4 separate regions of the Homo sapiens genome follow, and regions 1, 3 and 4 are each linked to region 2. Evidence: promoter capture Hi-C in 16 types of primary human blood cells and fetal thymus (Javierre and others, 2016). All regions are on one chromosome and are shown on one strand. Each heading gives the region's core, a stretch centred on a gene start or on the middle of the fragment in contact. The rest is flanking DNA. Distances are from core to core; before and after follow the strand shown.

Region 1 (3,544 bases), core at 324-2,823, 550 kb after region 2:
ATTCATCCATCAAGGCACACTTGGGTTGGTTCCACTTTTTGGCTATTGTGAATAATGCTGCTATAAACATGGGTATACTTACATATTTTTAAAAGAGAAAATAATTAGAGTCAGTTATAGCCATTAACATTGAATGCTTATTATGCTCTGGACCCTGATCTAAGCTGTTTATGTATATCACTTTATTCACATCTCTAAACAACTCTACGAAGTCTTTACTCTTGTTACTTCCATTTTACAGATGATGAAACAGACCTAGGAGAGTTTGGTAACTTACCCAAGGTAACGGTATTTTGCACAGTTTCCTCACTACAAAAATTGTCTGGGCTGTTTGTTGAAAGTTCCCATTCCCAGGCCTCATCCTATTCCTGTAGGTTCTAAGCCTCCAGAAAGGAGCCTGGAAGCTGAAGATTTTCCCTGTATACGGGGGTTACTTGTCATCAAAGAGAAATTGAGAACATTTGGGGCCACTAAGTGGTAGGCCCAAGCAGTCTGGCCACAGGGCCTTTTCACTTAGCCATGAGGCCAGGCTGCTCCTTTAAGGCCTGGTTTTCAGTGCCTGTTATGGCCCAAGGGAGGTGAACAAATGTCTCCTTTGGGATTTCTAAATTTTTTATTTGTTGCGTGGTGTAGAAGCTGATATCAGCTAATTGCTCATTGTGCTCTCAGCTGTTTGTTTGCACATCCCCTTTTTTATATCACAGCTACATTTTGAAATCCAGCATTCCCTGGAGGCATAATATTCCTTCCATTGCTACCTTCTTAAAAAGAGAAACTTGGCCAGGGCAGTGGCTCATGCCTGTAATCCCAGCACTTTGGGAGGCGGAGGCAGGCAGATCACCTGAGGTCAGGAGTTCAAGACCAGACTGGCCAACAAGACAAAACCCTGTCTCTACTAAAAATACAAAAATTAGCTGGACATGGTGGCACATGCCTGTAACCCCAGCTACTCAGGGGGCTGAGGCAGGAGGATCGCTTGAACCTGAGAGGCAGAGGTTGTAGTGAGCCAAGATTGTGCCACTGCACTCCAGCCTGGGTGACAGAGCGAGACTCTGTCTCAAAAACAAACGAACAAAAAGAAACTTGAATGAATCTGACTTCGGTGGGGACAACAGTCTGGCATTTCACATTCCAAAGTTAAGAGTTCAAGGATCCTTCTGGACCAGGTTTTTGTTCCTTCCCTGTCCTCAGGGCCCATTCAGAGGCCTTGTCATCAGAATCCACTCAATTCAGCAACTCTTTATTGAAGGCCTGCAAACTGCCCCAGCCTCTGCTGAGTGTAAGAGGGAGAAAAATAAGCAGCTTGATCCTCTACTATCTCACTGGAGAGGGAGACGGGCTGCCTTCTCAAAGTTGGTGCCTGGGTCCTGCTGTTTGGGAGGAAGCAGCTCTTGGCCCGGTTTTTCCCTTAGTTTTAGGCATCTCTTGCTTAAGCTCCTTCTAAGCCCCCAGCATTTCCAGATCATGATTATTAGTCAAAAGTATAGGGGATACTGTCTGGGAAGAGGCATGAGGAGGCCTCCAGGGGTGTCAAAAATATTCTGCGTCTTCATCTGGGCAATGCTTACCTGGGTATAAATGTGTAAAATTTCATTGATTGTGCATTTTCCTGTATGTATGTTATACCCCATTAAAAATAAAAAAGAATAGGGCAGTTTCAAGTGTATTGATGCATAATATTGCCAGACATATTGTAAAGGGAAAAAAAGAGCCACCGAACAATGTGTATGTTACCACTGGTATTTTTAAAAAGAATATAGGAAACTTACCTTTCACTCCATCTTTTACAGCATTTGAATTTTCTACCATGGGCATGAATTACCTACTCAAAAACAAAGTCACTATAGATTCCTGGGCTTGGTCCCCATCTTACAGAATCAGCTTCTCTGGAGTTGAGGCCCAGGAATGGTCATTTCTAACACCCTCTCCAGGTGATTCTATGCACACTGCAGCTTAAGAACTGCATGGGGCTGTGCCGGCCTGGCTTAGGCTACATCCTACCACAAAAGAAGACAGATATAAGGGGAGTTTACCCCAGGCTCAAAAGATACTTTCCCCCATGGCTTGATGATTAGGGAAGGAGCTGTTCAACTCTATTAAGAATGCCAAAACCTCTGAGCTGGTGCCAAAGTCAACAACTCCCGTTTCCATTGTAAATCCGTACTCTTCTCATGCCAGTCTATTTTGTATGTGCTTTGCGTCGACATCCCTATCTTTCCATGTTAGATTTTAAATTGGCTCCCTACAGAGTTTGAGGTTGGGCCTTAGAAGGATGTGATGAATCCCTTCACTTGTAATATGGCCATTCACCTCCTCCTCTTAGCAAAGCTGCTGAGACATAACATGGCTTCAATAACTTCCCAAGGGGACACCAGCTGAGATCATCTCTCCTGGGCAAATGAGGCCCAAACAACCCTCTCTGTTAAGAGGTCTCATCTGTGTATTTTTGAATGAGCCTGCCTCCCTTGGCACCCTGTCCCTATGTCACCAAGAACGTTTTACCCTAATCCTACAGAGCATCCTGGCAGTCCCTCTGGACTGAAGTTTATCTTTCCTCTCCTTTCCAACTCTGTCAAGAAGATTCTGTAAATAACATCCACTTGCTACTTTTCTTAACACCATGAATCATCATACACATGGGTATAGCATCCCAATTTGTAGCCTAGGAAGCTAATCTCAAAGGATTTTGCTCTTGCATTTATTTATTTATTTACTTATTTTATTTTTTTGAGACAGGGTCTCACTCTGTCACCCAGGCTGGAGTGCAGTGATGCGATCTTGGCTCACTGTAGCCTCTGCCTCCCCGGCTCAAGGGATCCTCTTGCCTCAGCCTCCTAAGTAGCGGGGACTACAAGGACACACCTGTAGTGTGTAGAGGTGGGGTCTCACCATTTTGTCCAGGCTGGCCTAGCTTTTATTTAGGTCTGTGTGTGAGCATATGTGCTCATGCACACCCTGAAATCTGCTTTGATATCCATGATTATCTAGACACGGTTCTTGTGACCTACCTTTTAAGAAGCATTGTACATTTGATACATGGTACCTCCACGCTTTGGCACTGCTGAGGCCCTGTTTCCTCTTATCCCAAGGGGCATCTGGGAACTTCTGTCTGGATAGCCAAAGAGCAGTGTCTGTCTCTCTCTCCACACACATCCCCCGACACACACACGTATATATACACATATATATTTCTCTCTCTTTTAGTATACTGGCACCCATTTAGTAACGTTCCAGCTTGCATTTTCTCCAGATAGGATGCACCTGAAATGATTGAGCAATCTCACCCTTTTGCCCACAGGCTGCACGTGGGAATTTGGAGCCATGGTGAACTACATCAAGAAGACATATCCCCTGACCCAGCTGGTCGTCGTGGGCTTCAGCCTGGGTGGTAACATTGTGTGCAAATACTTGGGGGAGACTCAGGCAAACCAAGAGAAGGTCCTGTGCTGCGTCAGCGTGTGCCAGGGGTACAGTGCACTGAGGTGAGTCATCTCCGCCTTCCATCAGGGCCTTCAGTTAGCCCTTATTTATAGAGATGCCCCGA
Region 2 (3,303 bases), core at 452-2,951:
GATTGTGCCACTGCATTCCAGCCTGGGTGACAGAGTGAGACTCCATCTCAAAAACAAAAACAAACAAAACAAAAAAAACTCTCCTTGCCCCAGATTTACCTCCCACAGTCCCCATGCCTGAAGACCGCTGTCCTATAACCCCTTCCCCTCTGCTCTCTGATCAACGCTGCCTCCTAAGTAGCATTTGAATCTGTCATTTCAAATGCTACTTAGGTGGGGAGCTCTTTATCCTCCACACCACTCTGGACATCATGATCTTCCAAATTTCCACAAACACTCCCCCACTCCTTTCTCCAGTCCTCATCCATTCCTCTCTATGCTGCAGCCAGAACAAGTTTTTTCAAATGCAGATTCACTGGTAAACTATCTATGGCTTAAATCCCTCTGCCTCCCCAAAGCCTTCAGGGGCCTGGGTAAAAGGATTGATCTCTCTTGTGACCTCATCCCTTGTCCTGCTTCCCTCAAATTTGTACTCCCATCAGAAAGAGCTCCTAGCTTATTTCTCATCACAGGTACGTTTCCAAATCACTTCTGCTTGCAAAATGTGAACTAAGAGAAGTCAGACTGCTTAGGTAAGGATCTTTGGATTCTAGGTGTTTCTCCTTAATTTAAGTGTCAATTTCCTTAACTGTAAAACTGAAATAATAGTAAGGTCATTGTACAAATTAACTGAGTATTTTGCCTGGCACATCATTCGTGCTCACATAATACGTGTGAACTGTTTATTATTGTTCTTGTTATTACTCATGTTACACTGAATTTTCTTTCTTTCTTTCTTTCTTTTTTTTTGAGACGGAGTTTTGCTCTTGGTGCCCAGGCTGGATGGAGTGCAATGGCGCGATCTCGGCTCACTGCAACCTCCGCCTTCTGGGCTCAAGCGATTCTCCTGCCTCAGCCTCCCGAGTAGCTGGGATTACAGGCTCCCGTCAACGCCCGGCTAATTTTTGTATTTTTGGAGAGATGGGGTTTCATGTTGGTCAGGCTGGTCTCAAACTCCTGACTTCAGGTGATCACCTGCCTCGGCCTCCCAAAGTGCTGGGATTACAGTCGTGAGCCACCGCGCCCCGGCCTCATGTTGCACTGAATTTTCTGTTAACCTTGCTGTTTCCCTGCTGTTAGATAAACAACTCAGGATGCTTATGTGTTTATTGTGTGCATCCCACTGCCAAGCCCACGTAGGAACTTAATACTTAGGAGTCAAGTGTTGCAAAAGAATAAATGAAAAAGCAGCGCTGACGGAGGAAACCTGACTTTCAAAGTCTCTCTTTAGTGCCTACTGTGTATATTATTTCCTTGAATCCCAGAACACCCGAGGAGGTAAGGGCCGATGTTCCCAATCTGCAGATGTGGGTGTACTCAGTAAGTCATTCGGCCTTTGGTGGTACCAGGCTTACAGGAGCCCACATCCCGACCCAGGTAGAGGAGTGGATTGGAGCCGGGGAACACTGATGGGACCGGGCAGGGACGACAGGAGGTCAGTCTCCCTTCCCTTCTCTTTAAAATTTCCCGCCAGTATGGCCGGCTCGCAGCACGAGTTACGCCCTCTTCAGGAGTCCCTCCCCTTCTGCTCTCGCCCGCCTCCCCGCTGCCAGGCAGGCTCGACCAATCAGAAGAGGTCTTGGGCGGGCGCTGCCGTCCAGCGAGCCAATAGGCGGGCAGTCGGAGCCGGGCTTGCCCGGGCATGTGGGAGCTGCCGGCTTTCCGGACGCCACGTGCAGACCGGAAGAGACACGCGGGGCTTCAGGTGAGATCCAGGACCCTGCACCGGGGCGGCGGGGTCGGGCGGGCTGAGGCCGCGTGTCCCGGGTCGCAGGTCCCCGCGCGTTGTTTCCGCCCCGGCCTGCGGCGGGGACGCCTGAACTGGGCTGACCCTGCCCTACCGGCCCGCAGAAAAGCAGGCCGGGCGCCGCCTGTCTCCAGCCCTCGCTCTGCTCGGGGGTCCAGGGCCAGAGGGGGCGGCGCTGGTCGTTGGGACTCGGCCCAGCTGCCGCGGCCAGCAAGTGACCAACGCCCGAGTCCTTCCCGGTGAGATCAGGCCTCCCACGCGTCACGCCTGGGAGAACGCCAGCCGGCGGGGAGGTCGTGCCAGGATAGCAGACTTTAGTTGTTGTCGTTGTTCCGTGGACTTTTTAGCAGCACAGGGGACCTTATCGAGCCAGGTTTTTTCAGGTTTGGGCGATTATCAGAATTGTGGCTTGAGGGTAGGGGTCGTCCGCGCTCTTTTTAAAAATCTAGATTCTCAGGCCCCTTTCCCCAAAATAGCAATTAGGACGGTGTGGGAGTGGGCCTGAAAATCAGCCTTTCATCAGATGTCATATGGTAATTAACTACATTTGGGAAGCCCTTATCTAATTCACAGCCCTCGGTTGATGGTGAAGAGACGTGACTTGCCCCAGATCATCTAGCTACTTAGTGCCAGAGGAGGGTCTAGAACTGCCCTCTGCCCTCTTGATCAGCCAGCAGGTTGGTGGCTCTCATGCCACCGAGGATTCTGACTTCTTGGTTCCTTTGGGGCCTTTGCTCCATTGACTCTGCAGCTGGGACCCTTTCTTTAGGCCAGACCCCCTCCCTGCCTGAAGGCCGGGTGTCTGACCCCCAGAGCGCTGGGTCCAGGCTAGAGAAAGGCTTGTGTTTGTCCTTGTTGAAAGGGTTGTTTTATCTGAGCGGAACTTCTCTCCAGCTTCACTGAGCTACATTTGGGTCCCCAAAGAGGTGTGTCCTTGATGACTGTTGGTTTTGACGTGTCAGCATGTAGCAGGAGGAGCCGCGGACAAAACCCCACAGAGGTAGTGAAGGAATTGGCTTTTAATCAGCTGGAAGCATCGGCAGACTAGCATCTCAAAATCCGAGCTTGTTGAGTGCACAGTTTCTGTCCCTTTTAAGGACTCACAACACTAAAGATTTTACAAGAAAGGGCCATGATTGATTGAGCAATCTAGGGGGTATGTGACAGGGACTGCATGCACCGGTAGTCAGAGTGAAACAGAACAGAACAGAACAAGAGATTTCACAGTGTCCTTCTATACAATGTCTGAAATCTATGGATAACATCGGTTGCTAGGTCATGGGTTTAATTTTAACTATCAGGCTAAGGTCAGGCAGGCCCAGGCCTGGTTTTGGGTCTGGTTTTGGGTCTGGTGCGTGGCGCCGGGCTGCCTGCCTTTGGTTTTGCTTCCTTGTTTCTTCTTAAAACAGGTACTGAGTATAAAATAATACAGAACAATATGAGGGGGAGGTCTCTTTCTCTCTTCTCTTAAGCAAGGTCAGGGTGTTTGGAAAAGGACTACTTTCCTCTCTTGAAAT
Region 3 (3,486 bases), core at 116-2,615, 630 kb after region 2:
AGGGCATTTGTGACCAAGTTTAAACCTGAAATAGTTTAAGAATAGAATGCTTTTACAACTGTATTTATAAAAGCAATTAGTATACTTTTATGGTCCTCAGAACAATCCTATTTGATGATAATATCCAGACTATAGTTACTGATTGAGACATTAGTTTTGCATTTTGATGCTTCTCTGTATTTTTCCGTAAAGAAATTAAGTTTATAAGCGGCAAAATATTTTGAAATTATTAGTAAAAATTAGGGCCTCTGTTTTCACTATAAGTGTAGGATTATAAAATGGGATAGTAATTGCCTTATATGTTAGGCTGTTTCTTCTCCCTAATGTTCTTTCTCAGCTGATATACTGCTCCTTTTTCCATAAGTGATCTCATCCTATCCAGGTCCCTGCCTGGAAAAGAATCCCTCTTCAAGGTATATGTACAAACAAGTAAAGACATTGAGTATCATGGGATTTTTTTCCTTTTTCTGTCAATTGATGAGTATTATGTTTTTAAGGGAATTTCTTTGTGTTAATGTTGTAGTTATTGAAGGAAGGTGCATCTTAGTGTGTGTTATCTGACATACTAACTAGGAATTGATGCAGTGTTGCTCTTTGATTTTTTTTTCTTTGAAATTATCCAAGATTGCCTTTATAGCTATTTTTTGAGATGACTTGTTGCATGAGTTGTAACTTGAATCATTCTATAGACAAGATTTGATTGAAACTAGCATTTAAATTATTTATTTAAAGTTTCATGCCTCAAATTGAAGGCGTGAACACTGTCAAATTGAAGACAGTGTTCCAGATGTTTTCTGACTCTAGGATAGAGTAATGCTAATATTTCCCTCATTTTTCCATTAATGCAAAATCAGCTTTTTGGCAGCAACATTATATTGTAGTCTCATTGCTCTTATATTTATTTTTGTATATGTTGATAAGTTGCTAAGTTTCCTTTATCTCTGAAGTCCTTTTAGAATCCATGTTAAAAACTATATATAGGCCAGGCATGGTGACTTACACCTGTAGTCCCAGCACTTTGGGAGGATTCCTTTAGGCCAGGAGTTCGAGATCAGCTTAGGCAACATAGTGAGACCCAGTTTCTAAAAACAACTACCAAAACAACAAACTTTATATCTGTTAACTGTCACCTTTTTTAGATTCATCTTGTTTTACTCCATCAAGATCATTTTGTATGATTCTGCTGACCGTATTAATCAGCTTTTTATCCTCTACAAATTTGTTAAGCATGTCAGTAATATATGCAGGCAGTTCATTTGATAAAATGTCCCACAGAAGATGAACTCAGAGTAAAAAATTATAAAACACATAAAGAAGTCCTGTGGCAAGAAAGACTCAAACAGAAATGGGAAAATTCATATTCAAGGATTTAGAGCAATCTGAAAAAAATCTTTAATTATTTAACACAAATACTTAATACAGTATTTAACTTTATTTATTTAAAGGTGGGATCTCACCCTTGCACAGGCTGGAGTGCAGTGGGGCGATCTCGGCACACTGCAGCCTCAACCTCCTGGGCTCATGCGATCCTCCCACCTCAGCCTCCTGAGTAGCTGGGAGTACAAGCATGTGCCACCATGTCCGACTAATTTTTGTATTTTTAGCAGAGATGGGGTTTCGCCATGCTTTCCAGGCTGGTCTTGAACTCCTGAGCTCAAGCAATCCACCCACCTCAGCCTCCCACAGTGCCGGGATTACACGTGTGAGCCACTCTGCCTGACCTAGTATTTAAAATATTTGAAGATGTAAATGAAGGAATAGAACTCACAAAATAAGGGATGGATTTAGAAAACAATGAAAGACAACTTCTTGAAATGAAAACCTCAGTAGGTGGTTTAACAGTAGACAAAACATTGCTAAAGAGAAAATTAGTAAAGTGGAATACAGAGCTGAGGATAACTAAATAAAGCACAGATTGTAAAGAGGTGGAAAATATAAAGAATATTTAAAATATATGCAGAGAACTTTGATAAGAATATATTATCTTCTTAAACACATAGAATGTTCATAAAAATTAATCACATGTCATATACTAGAGCACAAAGAAAACATGGGTAGGTCCCATAAGGTAGAATTATTACAAACTATTCTCTGTGATCACAATGCAATAAAACTGGAAATGAAAACCGAAACTAAAAGTCAAAAAGCAAAGACACTTTTACTTGGAAATTAAAATACCTTCTATTCAACCATTGTGGAAGACAGTGTGGCGATTTCTCAGGGATCTAGAACTAGAAATACCATTTGACCCAGTGATCCCATTACTGGGTATATACCCAAAGGACTGTAAATCATGCTGCTATAAAGACACATTCACACGTATGTTTATTGCGGCACTATTCACAATAGCAAAGACTTGGAACCAACCCAAGTGTCCAACAATGATAGACTGGATTAAGAAAATGTGGCACATCTACACCATGGAATACTATGCAGCCATAAAAAATGATGAGTTCATGTCCTTTGTAGGGACATGGATGAAGCTGGAAGCCATCATTCTCAGCAAACTATCGCAAGGACAAAAAAACCAAACCCCACATGTTCTCACTCATAGGTGGGAATTGAACAGTGAGAACACTTGGACACGGGAATGGGAACATCACACACCGGGGCCTGTTGTGGAGTGAGGGGAGGGGGGAGGGATAGCATTAGGAGATACACCTAATGTAAATGACGAGTTAATGGGTGCAGCACACCAACATGGCACATGTACGCATATGTAACAAACCTGCATGTTGTGCACATGTACCCTAGAACTTAAAGTATAATAAAAATATATATATATATAAAAATAAAAAAATACCTTCTAAATAACTCTTGGAGGAAAAGAGATACAAACAAATTACAGGATTTTTGAAGAATAATTACAGATAACAAAAATACTACATGTTAAAAATCCATGGAATAATGTTAAAAACAAGTGTTTAACAAATGAAATAATGAAATCAATACAAATGAAATAATGAAAATAAATAAATTCCCAACTCAAAAACCTAGAAAAAAGAGAAAGTAAACAACAACAAAAAAACACAAGAAACTACTAAAGATAAAAGTGGAAATTAATAAAGTAGAGAACAGAAAAATAGTGGATCAAATTAATCAAAATCTTGGTTCTTTGTGGGGGAAAAAAACACCATTAATTAATATAATAATCAAAACAGTGGAGTAAAAACATGCACAAAATGAGAAATGACAAGGGAGAAATACTGTTAATACAGAGAAAATCTCAAAAAATACTGTGAGACTACAGTAGATTCCTGTGCAAATAAATTTGAAAACCTAGAGGAAATGGATAATTTCTTAGGCACGTACAGTTTAATAAAATTGAGCCAATTTGAGATGGAAAGCTTAAGCAGACCAGTTTCCATAGAAGAAAAGAGAAAGTTATGAAGGAACTACTTCGTACAAAAACACCAGGCCCAGATAGATTGGCAGGAAACTTCTGTCAAACCTTTAGAGATCAGGTAGATAGTCCTAATGCTACAT
Region 4 (3,565 bases), core at 630-3,129, 530 kb after region 2:
CAGTGCCTTCTGTATGCCCTCTCATCAGGCTTACAAGGAGGAGAGTGCAAAAGCAGCCATATCTCCTAAGGGCCAGGCCTAAATTGGCATGGCAGTCCTTCTGCCACCTTCTGTAAGCCCAGAGAAGCCACAGGCCAGTCCAGATCACAAGGAGGGAATCTAGCTCCCGGCAGAAGAATGGAATAAGTGGAATTATTGGCCGCTACATTTTCGAACTACCACATAGATAGAAAAAGCATATTCCTTCGTGTACCATTTTAGCAGCATTTCTTCAGTATTTATATGTTTATATAAATTTCAAAATATTCTATTGTTTTAGTCCATATTTCCTTCCTGACCTAAACCATGTGACTGGGCACCTATTCAGTTTTTTGTTTTTAAATTTTTTTCTTGTGGTCTGTGGATAAGTTATATAAACAAACAACTACACATTGAACCCCACCATAGTAAATGCAGTCTAAAAATTCAATTTTGTAAACCCTGGTGTTGTATTATTATGAAGTTAATTAAAAACAGTGTTTTATCAGTAGGTATTGTCATAAAATTAAACCTTTTGAGACTTCCACTGTGTATAATTGATCTTACATTGAACTGAGAAAGTCCCAAGTGATTGTGAGGCAATTGATCCCTAACACACACACACACACACACACACACACTCACACTGAGAATTACTGCACCCCACTCTGAGAATGGGGTGTTAGGTAGGCTGGAAAGAGGACAGTCGCCTAACGCCAATCATGTAATAGCTGAATTCACATTATTATGGCACATATTATTTTTAAATATATTTTTGTATATTTTAAAAACATATATTTGTCCTTTTAGATTTACTAAGTGTCTCTATATTCTGTTCATTGAAGCAAATCTCCCCCAGGTGTGTAATGTATGTCCAGTGCTCTGGGGATAGAGCTAGAGGTGAATGAGCAGCAGGAGGGGTTGGCTTGAAAACAGCATCTAAAGTAATCAAGTCACCTGGATGTTAGGACGGAGCTGTGCATGGAGAAGGGGCAACCCCCCCAGCAACCTGACTGGAAGTGAGTCTTGAAAGACAAGTAGTAGGTGGCCCAAAGAAACGCTGGGTGTGAAAGAGCATTCCAGTCAAAGGAGACAGCTTGAGCAAAGACTCCTCAGATAAAAGTAGTTCAACACCACGTGTACCTGTTCTGGCTGGAGTTGGGCCTGGTAGTTTAGGTTTATTTGAGCTTAGGCAAGAAGTTAAGCGAGTACCAGGGTGTAGCCGGCCTCCTAGGCCAAGTGAGGACCCATGCAGTGGAGGGTGGGGGCCAGGCTTGTGTGTTGAGATCACCCCTCCATTGGCGGGTGGATGATGGAGTAGGTGGTGAGAGCAAGACTAGAGGCTTGGAGGCCGCTTGGGGGGCTGCTGCCAAGATTTTGAGGAGGGGACCTGACTCTAAACTGGGAATGTGGCATCAGGACAGTCACATGTGTCATCATTAAATGTGAAATCTGTGACTAGACAAAAAGAAATTTTACTTCATTCTTTTGTTCTATTTTCTGAGATTATATTGTATTCTAAACATGATCAGAAGGTAGGCATATGAAATTTACTCATTCTTCTGATATTTTTAAGCTCAGCATATTTCCACTTTTAATTTATAAACAAAATTTTCTTTAAACTTTCCTCCAGGAGTGATCAAAAGCTTAATTTCTTGGATAGTCCTCTTCCTCTATGCAAAACTTATTATCTAACTTGGTAGTCTGAAATCCTTTATAAGTTCTGTATCTAGATCTTGTATAGTGTTTGGTTGTCCAATTGACATTTTTATAAGCTTGCTTTTTGTTACTGTCATAATCCACTCAGCTCTTATAAATGCCTTCGCCTGCCTTCCAAATGCCATGGCTTTTGCAGTGATATTTGCACCTGTGGTGTTACGCTGGCAAGTGGCTTCATGTCCTTAAGGTCTTAAAATACTCTTTCCCCTCCTCCCCTCCCCCGAAAAGGAAGCTTGTCTGGGAACTGGTTTGCTTAAGGTGATAGCTTCACTTCTCTTAACTTTGTGTAGATTTGATTAATTACACACACATACAAGGAGTAAATCAAAGATGGGTTTTGGGGATCATCTGGTTCTGAGAGAAATGATAGGCAAGTAGGTTAAGGTAAATTATTAATAAAACACTCACCACTGCCATATAATACAGAGGGGAATGATTGACGTCACTATCATTTTATATTATACGACTCCAGTTTATATAGGAGACAAATCCTGGACAACCATCAAGCTTGGGCTAAAAGCCATGGAAGTGAAACCAACAGCGGTTTCAGTAAATGCAGTCACCTTGTACTGTGGTTGTAAACCATAATCATTTCTTAGTTGTAACTTGGATCATCTTCTTTTCCTGGTAATTAACTATTTGTGATTTTTGCATTTCCTACCAACGCCTAGAGTCACTCTGTGTTTTTACAATGCACCGTTGTTAGCGAGGCTTCATGCCTTGCGTAGGCTAACAAGCCTTTATCCTTAATCAATCCAACAAATATTTACACTGCACTGCCCTTACAGCATATTCTCTGGAGCATAGAGTAGTGCCCTCACCCCACAAGGCACTTACAGGCTCTTAGAAGAATTTGCAGCCCTTCCCAGCACTAACTGAGAGTAGCAGGTTTGGCTAATGGAGTAACCACTACAGCTGTGGCCTGTCTCGTTAGGGAAAGAAGAAGTGAGCTTTTAGTGAGTGTAGGCGCTATGCTATTTCATATACATCAGCTCCTTTAATAATGAGCTAACCTGTCAAGTTAGAATGTGTTCAAAATATATCACTTGCTTTCTTTTTATTCTATATTATGGAAATAAGCCATGTTGAATTACTTAACAGTTACCCTAAATTGAAATCCTCTTTATATATATGTCCTGGTTGATTTCTAAAGCTAATCTGATGCAGAGTGTATTAGTAAATGGGGAAAGGCGGTAAATCATGGCACGGATGTAACGTAATAAAAGCCTCATGTTTATGCTTTGTGTGCAGAATTTCCCTGGAACAAAAATAGGTTGAAAGAGTTTTGCTAAAAGATTTTTCAGAACGTTGCTCAAGGAATGTAGAGAAAATTGACCTCCCTTGTCCTTTCTTTAGATACATTCCACCGTTGATCTGGGGGAAAAGTGGACACATCCAGACAGCCTTGTATGGGAAGATGGGAAGGGTGAGGTCGCCACATCCTTATGGGCACCGGAAGTTCATCACTATGTCTGATGGAGCCACTTCTACATTCGACCTCTTCGAGCCCTTGGCTGAGCACTGTGTTGGAGGTGAGCTGCTTTAGATTGTGTGATTGAGCCATCACTCAGAGAAGGAGCACTAGTCAGTGGAGAGCACAGCAGTGTGAATACTTGTGCCACTGACTCTGCCCATGGCATCAGGGGCTGTTGGGAAGCCTGCTGGGATTCGTCACTTAGGAGCAGCCTGCAAAGGTTAGCTTCAGCGTATGTTTGCCAGTCACCATGTAAAGCTCTTCAGAACTCATTGTAGAATAGTTTTTTTTTTTTTTTTGAGACGGAGTCTCGCTGTGTCGCCCAGGCTGGAGTGCGGTGGCACGATCTCGGCT

Evidence for each region. The method cuts DNA at HindIII sites, captures the fragments that hold promoters and counts their contacts. A CHiCAGO score of 5 or more calls a contact.
Region 1: a fragment that was not itself captured here is called in contact with the fragment with the promoter of AEN in region 2 in 1 of 17 cell types (total B cells); the score reaches 7.4 in total B cells.
Region 3: a fragment that was not itself captured here is called in contact with the fragment with the promoter of AEN in region 2 in 2 of 17 cell types (activated CD4 T cells and monocytes); the score reaches 6.6 in activated CD4 T cells.
Region 4: a fragment that was not itself captured here is called in contact with the fragment with the promoter of AEN in region 2 in 4 of 17 cell types (total B cells, non-activated CD4 T cells, total CD8 T cells and 1 more); the score reaches 8.8 in total B cells.

The regions. Positions count from the first base shown.
Region 1 is chr15:89,172,514-89,176,057 of GRCh38, forward strand. ABHD2 (abhydrolase domain containing 2, acylglycerol lipase) reads left to right here. Exons shown (of 11, transcript NM_152924.5): 6 at 3,299-3,482. Among named protein-coding and RNA genes, the nearest start is that of RLBP1, 47 kb to the right of the region's middle. The HindIII fragment of the contact is 4,890 bases long and covers 1-3,544 here.
Region 2 is chr15:88,619,639-88,622,941 of GRCh38, forward strand. AEN (apoptosis enhancing nuclease) reads left to right here and starts at 1,702. Exons shown (of 4, transcript NM_022767.4): 1 at 1,702-1,744. RefSeq lists enhancers at 910-1,583, 1,584-2,257, 1,587-1,746, 3,233-3,303 and a silencer at 1,767-1,956. The HindIII fragment of the contact is 13,176 bases long and covers 1-3,303 here.
Region 3 is chr15:89,247,926-89,251,411 of GRCh38, forward strand. All of the region lies in intron 2 of FANCI (FA complementation group I), which reads left to right. Among named protein-coding and RNA genes, the nearest start is that of FANCI, 5.7 kb to the left of the region's middle. The HindIII fragment of the contact is 3,959 bases long and covers 1-3,345 here.
Region 4 is chr15:89,148,584-89,152,148 of GRCh38, forward strand. ABHD2 (abhydrolase domain containing 2, acylglycerol lipase) reads left to right here. Exons shown (of 11, transcript NM_152924.5): 4 at 3,094-3,269. Among named protein-coding and RNA genes, the nearest start is that of ABHD2, 62 kb to the left of the region's middle. The HindIII fragment of the contact is 176 bases long and covers 1,792-1,967 here.